5 separate regions of the Homo sapiens genome follow, and regions 2, 3, 4 and 5 are each linked to region 1. The links are contacts of gene promoters, found by promoter capture Hi-C in blood cells and fetal thymus (Javierre and others, 2016). All regions are on one chromosome and are shown on one strand. Each heading gives the region's core, a stretch centred on a gene start or on the middle of the fragment in contact. The rest is flanking DNA. Distances are from core to core; before and after follow the strand shown.

Region 1 (2,717 bases), core at 91-2,590:
GATGTGGTTTTAAACCAGCAGGTTTCAGAGTCGGGGCGGGTGCAACAGGCTTATAAAGGGAATGGTGGAAAATATTATACGTTAGTGAAAGAGGTTGCGAATGGATTGTGGAGAGCCCTGAATGGTAGACTGCGAGAGTGACAGGATGAAAACGACGACATCATAGGAAGAGCAATCTGTCAGTTGTAATGGCAGTTAAAAAGTGGCGCACAACACTGTACCTTAACCAAACTTGGAATTCCAAAGTGCTGGGACCTCTAGCGGAGAGCAGTTGAGTTCAATTCTATTTTAGATCACGTAGAGACTAAAATAGTGCCGATTGATCCTGATCATCACAGAATTCGTTTGAAAATCGGATTCTGAATGATGGTAGAAACATAGGATACTCCACATTCTACCCCCAATTGCTGTCCGGGACAGCAATTGCCTTTCTAATCGACTGCCATGTTTAGCGATTACTATGCGCCAAGCGCTTTACAGGCACTCTCATTAAAATAGGCAAACCGGGCCAGGCGCGGTGGCTCACGCCTGTAATCCCAGCACTTTGGGAGGCCTACGCAGGCGGATCACCTGAGGTCAGGAGTTCGAGACCAGCCTGGCCAACATGGTGAAACCTACTCTCTACTAAAAATACAAAAATTAGCCGGGCGTGGTGGCGCATGCCTGTAGTTCCAGCTAGTCGAGAGGCTGAGGTAGGAGAATCGCTTGAACCTGGGAGGCGGAGTTTGCAGTAAGCCGAGATCGTGCCACTGCACTCTGGCCTAGGAGACAGAGCGAGAACTTGTCTCAAAAAAAAAAAAAAAAAAAAAAAAGGCAAACCCCTCTGTAAGAGAGTGCTTTATCAAGCCCATTTTACTGATGGGGAAATTGAGGAGAGACGGGATTGGCCAGATCACGACCTGGAGGCAGCAAAGATGTAAAATCAGGGTTGGGATACAGGCTGCGCCGGTAGTGTAGGGGATAGGAACTTTCTGAGACTCAGGAGAAAGCCACAGCGATGGGAAGGGAAGCAGAACACTGGAGACCCTAAAGGCCCACAGGCTGAGAGAAGTGGTACCTCTCCTGAAGTGACACCTGTCAGCACGCCTCTTTTGGGCGCCAGTCCAAAAATCGCGGTATCTGATTGGCGAGGTTGGAGGGGGCTGAACGACCCTAATTGGTTAGTTGGACCTCGAACCAGACTTTCATCTGGAGGATCGGGCGAGGAGTGGGCGGGATTTCGAACTGAGCCACTCCCTTCATTGGTGAAAAGAAAACGAACCAGGAACTATTCGGAAGTGTGATTGGCTGTTGCTAGGAACCGTCTCAAGGCCTTATGGGCCCTGGTTACGGAAGCCGAGGAAGGCTGAGCGCGGGCTCTCAAGGAAAGTAGTCGCGGAATCTCAGTTAGCGGTGGAGAGGCAGTATGTCCGGTTCAATGGCGACTGCGGAAGCTAGCGGCAGCGATGGGAAAGGGCAGGAAGTCGAGACCTCAGTCACCTATTACCGGTTGGAGGAGGTGGCAAAGCGCAACTCCTTGAAGGAACTGTGGCTTGTGATCCATGGGCGAGTCTACGATGTCACCCGCTTCCTCAACGAGGTGGGGCCTGGGAGGTGGGAGGCCTCTGAAGCTGCTGGGGCGAGGGGTGAAAAGGCTGTGTGGAGTGTATGTGGGAAGGAAGGGAGGCTTGGCTGGGGGCGATAAGGCGTAAGAAAGGGATCACGACCCTCAGAGGGAAACTGGGGTGGGATTGGGGGAGGGCTTTAGTTTGCATGCATTTCCAGTCAGCTCCGAGTTCTGGTGCCTTATGTAATATCATGTATTACTTATGTGTCGAGCATTTGCTGTGTGCTCAGCTAAACTCTAAGCCATCATTATCTTTATTTTACAGAAAGGGAAACTGAGGCTCACAGGTTGAGGACTCTCAGGGCCATAGAGTTAGCAGCTTAGATCCGTTGAACCTAGGTCTGAAGTGCACCCACATCTGTGCTTTTCCAGTGTGCCTTCTGAAGTAATACCGGTTTTGGTTTTCGTCTTCTAGAGTAGAAGCTGAGATTTCTCTCCACACGCTTCCCCATCTTGATTATGCCTCCACTGTTTTTTTTTCCCCCTAATCTGAGTTGACCTTGAGGCCAGAAACTCATAAATCAACCCTTTTTTTTTGTTTTTGACTCATGTTTTGTCATTTTTCTTAAATATTCAAGACTGTTTTATTTAATCTTCAAGTCTGTTGCATTACATCTCATTTTAAAAATTATTTTTGAGACCATGGTGCAACTAATTTTTTTTTTAAGGAAACAGGATAGACTTCTAAATATTTAAAACTTTATTGAGGTGTAATGTACATACGTAAATTGTGCCTATCTAAAATGTACATTTTGATGAGTTTTGAAAAATGTATTCATCCATGTTAAGACATAAACCATTTCCATCATTCTAAAAAGCTTCCTTTCCCTTTGCAGTCATTCTCTCCCAACCCCAGGCAACTAGTGATATGCAGCCGCTAAAGATTGGTTTGAAGCTTTGATTTTCGGTGTGTGTATGTTTGAAGCTTTGATTTTCGGTTTGTGTGTGATCATTTTATTTTGAGCAATAGATTAATGACTTGTGAAAGTTCACTTCTATTTCTCTGAAGCAAATATACTAGTGAAATATTTTTTCGATTAATTTGGGGCCTAAAAGAGAAATCTCTGCATCCTGACTTTTAATTCTAAAAACTTTTAAAATTTAAAAGTTT
Region 2 (2,717 bases), core at 68-2,567, 200 kb after region 1:
CATCTATAAATGCCATTTCCTAAAATGGACCTTGTCTTCAAATATGGGAACCAGCTTAAAGTTGTTTGGTTGACTGTGCTTAAAAAGGTTAAATACCAAGCTGTGAATAGAAAATTATATTTGAGTTTCTGTTTAATAATTAATTTTAAAGACTTGCACCAAGGGAAAATATTTTATATGATCTGAAAAATGACTGAAGCACTCAAGTGTCTTTTATATTCATAGCATGTTACTGAAACCTTTTTATTATATTTAAAAATATATGTGACTTCGTAGTTTTCAATTTATTGAAAGTAATGGAGGACGTCAATATAATATTTATATAAAGACATTTTCTTATATTGATGAAAAGGTATAGAAAGTAATGTTTGAAATTTATTAGACTTATTTTTACTCAGCTCTCAAATCATACACTTAATGATATACAATTGGCTCAAATTTTTATTTTACATAAAAATAAAAGATAGACAAGCTAATAGAAAAAAGTGTTATCAGTGACAAATTAGTATCAGTCCTTCCTGTAATGTTAGTTTACCCACCTAATATTGGATTTATAGACTGCTAAGTGTGTTTGTTTTAAAAAAAGGAAACATATATATATATATATATATATATATATATATATATATATATATATATATATATATATATTTTGAAGTTTTATCTGTCCTAATTAGAGGTTTCTTGCCTAATATGACACCTCTCATCTTTAAAAATGATATTTAAAGTTTATCAGAGCATTGTTTTCAGTAAATTATTTTAGTTTCAAAATGAGAACAGTAAAGTGTAAGGTTGTGGTTTAAATGAGGATATTGGTACTATAGTATAACTTCAGATATATTTCTCATATGCATTAACCTATGTACCATTAACCTTATGTACCAATCTTTCTCAGGCTGCATAGTGCATTGCTGAAGCCTTCCTGGTTGAAGGCAGGAAAACTTTAAATATGGCAAAGAAACTGATCAGCCCTGTTCACTGTTCATGTGTTGCCAGACACTTTCTAACAGTTTCTGTGGATTTAATTGTGAATTAGTGAACTTTTTAGTAATCAAATTGATAAGATGACCTGGTTTGCTTTATATCCACTGGGTTCTAAAATGGCTCTGATGATATTTTTCTGGAATTTTAAGTTTTAAATCTGGTTTTAAAATTGCATCCAATAATAAAATATGACAAAGATAAAATATTTTTTATGAGATACTTCACTTTAAATCCACAAGTAGAAATTGACTAACTGATTTCTTTTGTATCTTTTGAGATTGTTTTTTAAAGATACGTTGAATCTATATAGAACTAAAAGTCTGTTTCTTCTGTGCTTTTTAACATCTGTTGACGGTAGATCCAGTTCCTTTTAAAAGCTGAAAAAATTGTTAGGTTTAGAAAAAGAACAGTTCTTCCTTTTAGATAATACCAAATTGAATTTTAGAAATTCTTATATATATAAAAATATATTAAAAGTTCTTGAATTTGGGTCCCTAATGAAATATTAACCTTCTCCCCACCACAGTATATTTAAGAAAAATCTCTCAAGATAAATTACATTGAAAGCTGTGAGTTGAAAAATCATGAAAATAAGAAATCTAATTAAAAGAAGTATTTTGAAGTAATGCATTCTTATTATCTTGAAATTATTGACATTGTAAAGATGGCAAAGAGAGTAAGAAGGTAAACTTTCTAGTTTTGTTATAGTCACACACAGAAAGTTTATATGATCATTAACAAGTCATTTAAAATCTTTTTCAAAATATAAATTTAGCAACCAATGTAGATTATTCTAGGATTCTAATAGCTTAGAAAGAGCACTTCATACCTTACCATTATAAACAAGAGAGTTTAAATCACAGAATAATTATTTTAAGGAAATCAGTATATATCATTAGAATTATATTTTTATTTGACATACTAATATTCTTGGTGATATAACTGTCAGAGTTACTTGGAGTATATTACCAAGTTACTCAATGTTTTTCTAGCCAGAAGGCTAGATAGATGTCTAGGGAAAGGCATATTAATTTAGACTTGTATGGGTTTTTAAAAAATCTTTAGCATTTTTGAAAAAATATGGGCCAGGCATGGTGGCTCACACCAGCACTTTGAGAGGCCCAGGCCGGCAGATCACCTGAGGTCAGGAGTTCAAGACCAGCCTGATCAACATGGTGAAACTGCGTCTCTACTAAAAATATAAAAAATCAGCCGGGCGTGGTGGCGGGCGCCTGTAATCCCAGCTACTCTGGAGGCTGAGGCAGGAGAATTGCTTGAACCCGAGAGGCGGAGGCTGCAGTGAACCAAGATCGTGCCATTGCACTCCAGCCTGGTCAACAAGAGTGAAACTCCGTCTCAAAAAGAAAAAAGAAAAAATATGAAATGTGTAAAAATATTGACTCTTGATATAGTTAATTCTTCAGAGTTTTGAAGGAGCCGGATTGGCTGCTCTCAGGTATGAGGGCCTGGTGGGAACAGACTTCTAGTTCTGCCATAAAGGTTTGTGTTTGACAAGTTTTAAATTAATTTAAATTTTAAAATTTAAAGACTGGGCATATGAGTGTTCATGGACATTTTTTTGTTGTTTAATTTTTTAAAATGTGTTTCTCAGATTCACCAATTTAGATTTTTTTCCTCTTCCTGTTACTAAGGGAATAAGTAAATATGATGCTGCTAATCCACAATCCAGAATATTGGGTAAAAGAGCGTCTATCAAGCCTTTATCTGCTTCT
Region 3 (2,717 bases), core at 150-2,649, 180 kb after region 1:
ATCTCCACTAAAAATACACAAAATTAGCTGGGCGTGGTGGTACGCCTGTAATTCCAGTTACTCAGGAGGCTGAGGCATGAGAATTGCTTGAACTGGGGAGGCAGAGGTTGCAGTGAGCTGAGATGGCGCCATTGCACTCCAGCTTGGGTGATAGAGGGAGACTGTCTCAGAACAACAACAACAACAAAAGGAAAGCTGTGTATTGTGAAGTGAAATCAGAGTCACCTTGAAATGGGCATGAGGTATTCATCAGATTGCCTTTGGAATAAAAGAAATAATGTCCGTGGAATATCTCAGTAACACCTCCTCATTGCTAACCCTTTTGAGGGCAGAAATTATAGTTTTTATTTATGTTAGTAGCTCCAATTAATATATTAATAATAGTTCTAGGTGTGTTCTACACATTATTGCTAGTGCTTACAACTCTACAAGGTAGATAGGTATTACCACTGTATTATAAATGAGACAGCCAAGGCTTGCTGTGATAAGTAACTTGTCCAAGGTCACACAAAAAATAAGTGATACATTTATGATGAAACCTCAGTTCTGACTACCTTTGTTCTTTCATTATGACATGCTGCCTACCTCTTATTTATTATAAACAATATTGGTATACTGACACAAGGATCAGATGCTTTGTATAATGGTTGTAGACTTTTCCAAGGAATCTTGTGACTTTCTTCTTTTTACTTTATCCCCCTTAATGCAAAAAAAGAGAGATTACAATAAATACTTGAAATGCGTCCTAATTATCTGTTACGTATAGTCATGATTGTGAGTTTCTGATCAAGCCAAATGAAAATTTATGTGCTTTTAACAATGATATTGACAACCTCTAATACTAGAACCTTTATCCCCTGAGTCTTAACCCCTTAATTCTTCCATATTTTGTAATTGGCCCTTTAAAGATAAATAGGTGTAGAAGGATTTCTTACATACCTCTTAAGCATCTGCTTCTAGAGCATAGCCACTGGCAAATGGAAACAACTGAATTCTCTTCTAGAGCACATTTGAATCCATCTCACTAAAGCTTCTCAACTTGTGACTTCTTCTGAAAAATTTATTTTGGTCTTCTCATTTTCTATTTTCTTTTTCTCTCATGTCAGTGGAAGAGATTCTCAATTTCTTTTCTAAGGTACTTTCAATTTCCTGACTTGATTCTGTGACATACTTTTTCTATTTTCCACTCTCTCTTTTCATTACTCCCTTTCATGTGTTTGTTTTCCTCACACCAGTAGTAGTCAAACTGCTGTTAACTATGATTTCTGAAAAGGTACTTCTGCATTTGATATAATTTCAAAAGGGCCATGGTGCTTAAAAAGAAATTAGAAAACTAAATGCTTATGGTAGTATAATCATGTAACAGTGTACTAGAAAAACTACTTTATTGGCCGGTCACGGTGGCTCACGCCTGTAATCCCAGCACTTTGGGAGGCCAAAGTGGGCAGATCACTTCAGGTCAGGAGTTCGAGACCAGGCTGGCCAAGATGGCAAAACCCCGGTCTCTACCAAAAATATAAAAAATTAGCCGGGTGTTGTGGCGTGCCTGTAATCTCAACTCCTCGAGAGAGGCTGAGGCAGGAGAATCCCTTGAGTAGTTCCCCACATGCATACATACAATGATCACTACTCAACTAGATACTCTAAGGAGATCCTCTATAGATCTCCAGCGTTCTCTCTGAGTGTGTCTCTCCTTTCCAGTACTCTGCATTGAGAACCCCGGCCATCTGGGCTTCCCCAGACTCCTAGCTCTACCACTTCAACTTAAGAAGCTTAAGAAGACTGCTGGGTGGCCAGGCGCGGTGGCTCACGCCTGTAATCCCAGCACTTTGGGAGGCCGAGGCGGGCGGATCACGAGGTCAGGAGATCGAGTCCATCCTGGCTAACACGGTGAAATCCTGTCTCTACTAAAAATAAGTATATTGAAAATTATCTACCACCATGTGAAATAGTAGTTGTCATTTTAGTCAGGCTGTGGTACAGTGCAATGGCACAATTTCTGCTCACTGCAAGCTCTGCCTCCTGGGTTCACGCCATTCTCCTGCCTCAGCCTCCCAAGTAGCTGGGACTACAGGTGCCTGCCACCACGCCCGGCTAATTTTTTGTTATGTAAATATAATTGTTTTTTCCTCTAGGTTGAAGAATTTAGGTAATCTGGCCAGGTGTGGTGGCTCACGCCTGTAATTCCAGCACTTTAGGAGGCCAAGGCGGGCGGATCACGAGGTCAGGAGATCGAGACCATCCTGGCTAACACGGTGAAAACCCGTCTGTACTAAAAATACAAAAAATTAGCCAGGCGTGGTGGCAGGCATCTGTAGTCGCAGCTACTCGGGAGGCTGAGGCAGGAGAATAGTGTGAACCCAGGAGGCAGAGCTTGCAGTGAGCTAAGATCATGCCACTGCACTCCAGCCTGGGCAACAGAGTGAGACTCCGCCTCAAAAAAAAAAAAAGTATTTAGGTAATCTGCAGAAGAAGGTGGTTCAGGTCTTTGGTTGCTGTTCTTTCCTAGACTCTTCAGAAAAAAATGAATTAACTAGCAATGCTTAAAGAGGTAGTAAATACAAGCCAATCCATTTTCATTCCAGCTGCATTTCATGCTTCAGAGTAATGGCTGTTAGCCAGAATCACTTGTGAAGCTTTATACACATATACATTCTGTGATCTTATTCCCTGTAAACCCCTATTCAGTAGTCGGTCTGTGATGAAATCCCAGGCAT
Region 4 (2,717 bases), core at 113-2,612, 170 kb after region 1:
TGCATGACCCCAGGAGTTCAAGGTTACAGTGAACTATGATCGCACGACTGCACTCCAGCTTGGGCGACAGAATGAGACCCTGTCTCAAATAATAAAAAAATAAATAAAGCTCTGCATTTTGGCAGTTGTGGGTCGTCTGAGTACAGACGTTGAGTCCTGAGTATCAGGTGACTAAAAACTCTAGTATTGTAAATAGATTTGTAAATTGACAAATCTTGTTTTAGACAATTTTGCTATGGTATGCAACAAAGTTATTTCCAAATACTTTTAGGTTTGGATATTTAAAGTGCTATTTAAAAAACTGTATTAGTCAAAGTTCAGGATTTTTTGCGTAAATGTGATTTAAAGTATAAGGCAGTTCTAGTTCTTTCTTTGTATTTGTATTGTTAAAATAAGACTCAGTTGAATTTCAGTTTGAAAATACTGGAAAATTGTTATTCATAGCTACTTTGTCTCAGGCTAGATGATTATAAGGAGAAAATTAATTCTAAAGTGGTTTAAACCAAATCATGTTTTAAATTTAGTGTTATATAAATTTCAGGTTGTGTTCTATATCTTTTTTTGGCTTTCCCCTCCCTCAGCCTAACAGTTTAGTTGTTCAGGATAGGGAGATTTGTCCCATGTAATTATTTTTCAGTTTTGCTGAACATATTTTTAAAATGGCTACCTTTCTTGGGTACAGTGTCATGGGATTCCCCGCCCCATCTGGGGTAGAGTGTTGTGGGATTAGAGTGAGATAAGAGACAAAGGAGAATCTTTCAGGTCTTCTAACTCAAATCACTAGAAATTTAGGCACGATCTGGACCTTAATGTGTGAGAGGCTGTATCATTTTATTTCCCAAATTGTATTTTCTTTTTTCTTGAGACTGAGTCTCACTCTGTCGCCCAGGTTGGAGTGCAGTGGCGTAATCTCGGCTCACTGCAACCTTCGTCTCCTGGGTTCAAGCAATTCTCCTGCCTCAGCCTCCCTAGTAGCTGAGATTACAGGTACATGCCACCATGCCTGGCTAATTTTTCTATTTTTAGTAGAGATGGGGTTTTGCCATGTTGACCAGGCTGGTCTCAAACGCCTGACCTCAGGTGATATGCCTGCTTTGGCCTCCCAAAGTGCTGGGATTACAGGCATGAGCCACTGTGCCTGGCCACAAATTGTATTTTCTCTAACTTCTAGTTGGTATGAAAAAAGTATTAAAGAGTCCCCTCCCCACCCCGCCCCAGTTTTCTTACTCCGAGGATGAAGATGAAGTGGAAAGCTTTAGATAGTTGGTTTTTCAGCCTGGCCACCATGGAAAAATTATTTACTGTTTTATGAAACATGCAATTCAGTTAATTTGGAGGAAGCTGTTTAGTAAGGGGAAAAGGACAGGATTTCTAGTTAGGAAACATAATCAAGTATCTGTTTTAAACTTTGCTAGTTTTATTTCTTTTCCTCTTTTTATCCTCATTTCCTTTTTATCTAGCAAGATTATCGTGAAGCTTCTATGAATAATTTTCTACATTATGCTAGTGCCTTTAAACAGTGTTTGAATATGAATCTCTAACTTGCTCTGAATATGTTGAGAAAAAAAGTTGATTTTTCAGGATAAGTAATTCTTTTTGGGTGTTCAAGATATTTTTAACAAAAAATTTTTCAGAAATTGAAAGTTGGCTTGGCACAGTAGCTCACACCTGTAATTTCAGCACTTCATGGGGCCAAGGCAGATGACTTAAGGCCAGGAGTTCAAGACCAGCATGGGCAACATAGCAAGACCCCTTCCTACACAGCCCAGGAGTTTGAGGCTGCAGTGACCTGTGATTGTGCCACTGCATTTCAGCCTGGGTGACAGAATGAGACCCTGTCTTGATTTAAAAAAAAATTACAAAAAGTCTTTCCAAAGCTATAAAAACTTTAAGCTTTATTCTTTCTCTTTTTCCATGATACTTATTGGCTCTTTTAGGTTTAGTGGTAACTCCTACCAATAATTCTTAAAAGGAAAATGATAATTACTTTTTCTTTTTTTTTTTTTTTTTGAGAAGGAATCTCACTCTGTCACCCAGGCTGGAGTGCAGTGGTGTGATCTCGGCTCACTGCAACCTCTGCCTCCTGAGTTCAAGCAATTTTCCTGCCTCAACCTCCCAAGTAGCTGAGATTACGGGCACCCACCACCACGCCTGGATAATTTTTGTATTTTTAGTAGAGACGGGGTTTCACCATGTTGGCCAGGCTGGTCTCGAACTCATGACCTCAAGTGATCCACCCACCTTGGCCTCCCAGAGTGCTGGGATTACAGGCGTGAGCACCATGCTCAATGGTAACTACTTTTTAGGGATGATACATGGTACTTAGTTGTCACTGATTTTTTTTTGTTGTTGTTCAAAAATTATTATAGTATCTAAAATCTTGTGAACATGGGAACAGATTGTGAGGAGAAAAATAAATAAAAGCTTGTGATTATTTCAAATTCTTATGATCTCAAGTCTTGACTAAAATGTGTGCTTTACAGGGATTAAGATTAAAGTGAAGCTGTTTTTTTCCCTCATAATGTTTCTAACTTAAATTTTTAAGGGGCATTAATACTTATGAAATTGATAGTTTTCTCATCTTTTGATTACTCCCCTCAATTCATGCTTCTGAAAAATGCATTCTAGCTAAAAATATAAGAATGCTTATTAATCATAAAATATATTGGTACTTGTTTAGTGTAGAACTAAGGGATTTAGATATATCCTTTAAAGGC
Region 5 (2,717 bases), core at 82-2,581, 140 kb after region 1:
CTAGGTCTACAGGTAAAACTTTGTAAAGGGCCTTGCCTCAGCGACATCTGTACTGGGCCCTCCTTTGCTGAGAGCTTCTTACCCCAACCCTAGCACTCCAAGTCCCGAGAACTGCTCAATTTCATGGGAAAAAGTCTCTATAATTATATATATATGTATATATGTGTGTATATATGTATGTATATATATGTGTGCATATATATACACATACACATATTACAACAGACTGATTTTCATGAGTTGTAACTATCCTTGTAGATAAAAAACGAAACCATTCGAATAGCTTAAAAACCATGCCCACGTGGCTACTGGCATCAATATTCCACACAAGATTAAAATTACTTCCCAAGATGCACACCCTGCACTCCAGGTAATATTTCAATAACTTGATTAAAAATTTCTCAGAAGTCTATTAGAATCAGAAAACGCTCTGCGGTGTGGGTGAGGATTTTAAATTTTTGCAACGGAAACTTTTGGCTCCACGAACAGAAAAGCAAGAGCAAAAACTCAGTTAAATGCGTTCTTCCTCCATCTTTGCCTAGTCCAAAAGGAAAAAAAAAGAAACAGAAAAAAGAAAAACTGTTTGGAAGAGTAGCGTTGAGGTTTGCTTTTTACCTGTTTTTCCTCTAGAACAGCCAGGTGGATTCACATGATCCAATTTTTTAATTGTCTTCTATGTCCCACTCCGAATAACCCGGATGCCCCAGCACAATCAGAGAGATCGTTTTTTTTAAAAAAAATTTCAGCCTCCAAAGGTAGGAGGGGAGTGTTAGGGGAGAAAGTACTTTAATTAAAAATCAATAACTCGAGGTTTTTGGGATACGGTTTGCCATTTCCTAATTAAGAAATGGGTTTGACAGTCCCTTTGTACACACTGCTATGCAAACCCCAAAGGGTTGGCGGCTGTCCGGGCGATGACACTCCGGTCCCCTGCGAGACCCCGGGCCAGCCAGGCCCGTCCGCCGCCGGCCTCTGGGGTCCGTCCCCGGCTCGCGCAGACCTCTCGCTTCTCTCGGCTCTGTCTCCTGCGCTCAGCTCTGCTCGGGGCCGGCCGCCTCAGGCTCGCCGCCACCAGGTCGTTGCAAATACCTTTTCCCTCCCCGGGGCCCCAGCGCGCGGCCACCTCCCAGCCTCCCCCCCTCCCACCCTGGCAGCGGGGCCCTTTCCCGGCTCAGGAACAGCAGCAGCCCGGGCCGCGCCGGCAGGAAGCGAGGCCCATGTTGCTGCTGTTCCCTGGCGCGCCTCCCCGCCCTCCGGGGGCCGCCACGGCTCTTCCGCGCTCCCGGGCACCCCCCTCCGCGCCTGCGCTGTGCCCCACGGGGGCGGGGCTCAGATTCCTGTCAGCGGCGGCGGCGGTGGCGGCGACCGTCAGTTTTCGCTGAGGAGAAACACGAAACGGACCCTTTGGCTCTCCCCCTTCCCCTTCCCCGTCCTGAACCCCTCTCCTGGTCACCGAGAATCAGTCCCCGTGGAGTTCCCCCTCCACCTCGCCATCGTTTCCTCGGTCCTCGGCCCAGTGGAAGTCACTACCCTCGAGGAGGAGGCAGCGGCAGCCGCCCTCGCGTCGCCGCCCCCGGTTCGGTGCCCGCGGTCCCGGAGAGGAGGTGCCGCCGCCACCGCCGCTCCCCCCCTCCCGCTGCCCTCGGGCCGGGCTGGGTCGAGCTGCGATGCCCTCGGACTTCATCTCATTGCTCAGCGCGGACCTAGACCTGGAATCGCCCAAGTCCCTCTACTCGCGAGGTGAGTCAGGCTGTGGGGGGTGGGGCGTGGGGGCGGGGAGACAGGGAGACAGGGAGACAGGGCCAGGGGAGGCGAGGGGTCCCCGTCCCGCCGGGGGCGGCTGAGCCGCGACCCCCATGGCTTCTTTGGCCGGAGCGGGCAGAGGCCGAAGGGATCGGGGTGACGGTGGAGGGGGCGGGCGGAGCAGTGGCGGCCCCTCCCCCGCGGAGCCGCCGGCCGCTCGGGGCCCAGATTCCGTCGGCCCCCGGGGCTCTGCGGCACCGGTCGCTTCTAGCCGCTCTCAGCCCGTCCGGCCCCGCCAGGCTCCGCGAGCCGCCGGCCCCGGCCTCCCGGGCTCGGGGATGGCCCCAGACTGGGCCCCGCGCTGGGGCCACCGCGATCGGGGCGCCGCGTCTTCTCTTACCGGGACCCTCCTCCCCAGCAAAGTTGCCCCCAAGCGGGCGGCGTGGCCTGGAGCCGGTTCTGAGTGCAGGGTCACCATTTTCCTCCCTTTCCAGCTTGTTTTTGCGCCGTCGTTCCACCCCCTCTCCCTCCGGCCTAGTCCACTCCCTCCCCATGTTGGGACAGCCCCCCTCGACCAGGCGTTCTTCCTTTCCTCGTCATCTTCTTGCTGGAAAGGGCCCGATGGAAAGGGCCCGAATTTTCTTTTCTTTTTTTTTCTCTTCCCACCTCCGTGGCATTCTAATTACTTCTCCCTTCTCCTTTACAAAGATGGGGGTGCCCTCTCTGGATTGGTTTTATTCCTCTCCTCTCCCAGGAGGACCAGCCCAGGCACAGACGCTGTCCTTTGAGAATTTTCTCTGCTTTTCCGTTCAAGGGCTGGTTGCAGGGAGGGAGCTCAGGCAGAGACTTTTCATTTAAGAACTCTTTTGGCTAAGGCCTGCAGGGGATTCCCAGCATCTGAAATATTAGCACTGGAGCTGATCCCTACTCAGGTGAAATTCCTTTACTGGACACCACAAGAATGTGTCAGAACA

What was found. Contacts are between HindIII fragments. The CHiCAGO score rates a contact against its expected background, and 5 or more counts as called.
Region 2: a contact is called between a fragment that was not itself captured here and the fragment with the promoter of CYB5B in region 1, in 10 of 17 cell types (activated CD4 T cells, monocytes, M2 macrophages and 7 more). The highest score is 9.3, in activated CD4 T cells.
Region 3: a fragment that was not itself captured here is called in contact with the fragment with the promoter of CYB5B in region 1 in 3 of 17 cell types (activated CD4 T cells, M1 macrophages and endothelial precursors); the score reaches 7.2 in activated CD4 T cells.
Region 4: a fragment that was not itself captured here is called in contact with the fragment with the promoter of CYB5B in region 1 in 2 of 17 cell types (activated CD4 T cells and total B cells); the score reaches 6.2 in activated CD4 T cells.
Region 5: a contact is called between the fragment with the promoter of NFAT5 here and the fragment with the promoter of CYB5B in region 1, in 6 of 17 cell types (activated CD4 T cells, megakaryocytes, endothelial precursors and 3 more). The highest score is 7.2, in activated CD4 T cells.

The regions. Positions count from the first base shown.
Region 1 is chr16:69,423,279-69,425,995 of GRCh38, forward strand. It overlaps CYB5B (cytochrome b5 type B), which reads left to right and starts at 1,341. Exons shown (of 5, transcript NM_030579.3): 1 at 1,341-1,579. The coding sequence starts at 1,406. RefSeq lists enhancers at 624-1,171, 1,172-1,719. The HindIII fragment of the contact is 7,938 bases long and covers 1-2,422 here.
Region 2 is chr16:69,626,733-69,629,449 of GRCh38, forward strand. The region is part of intron 3 of NFAT5 (nuclear factor of activated T cells 5); the gene reads left to right. Among named protein-coding and RNA genes, the nearest start is that of NFAT5, 62 kb to the left of the region's middle. The HindIII fragment of the contact is 5,008 bases long and covers 1-2,717 here.
Region 3 is chr16:69,606,684-69,609,400 of GRCh38, forward strand. All of the region lies in intron 2 of NFAT5 (nuclear factor of activated T cells 5), which reads left to right. Among named protein-coding and RNA genes, the nearest start is that of NFAT5, 42 kb to the left of the region's middle. The HindIII fragment of the contact is 742 bases long and covers 1,029-1,770 here.
Region 4 is chr16:69,590,088-69,592,804 of GRCh38, forward strand. The region is part of intron 2 of NFAT5 (nuclear factor of activated T cells 5); the gene reads left to right. Among named protein-coding and RNA genes, the nearest start is that of NFAT5, 25 kb to the left of the region's middle. The HindIII fragment of the contact is 223 bases long and covers 1,252-1,474 here.
Region 5 is chr16:69,564,635-69,567,351 of GRCh38, forward strand. NFAT5 (nuclear factor of activated T cells 5) reads left to right here and starts at 1,332. Exons shown (of 15, transcript NM_138713.4): 1 at 1,332-1,740. The coding sequence starts at 1,668. It overlaps MIR1538 (microRNA 1538), which reads right to left and starts at 1,234; the gene lies at 1,174-1,234. RefSeq lists an enhancer at 1-296 and silencers at 958-1,337, 1,057-1,233, 1,528-1,797, 1,818-2,127. The HindIII fragment of the contact is 15,576 bases long and covers 1-2,717 here.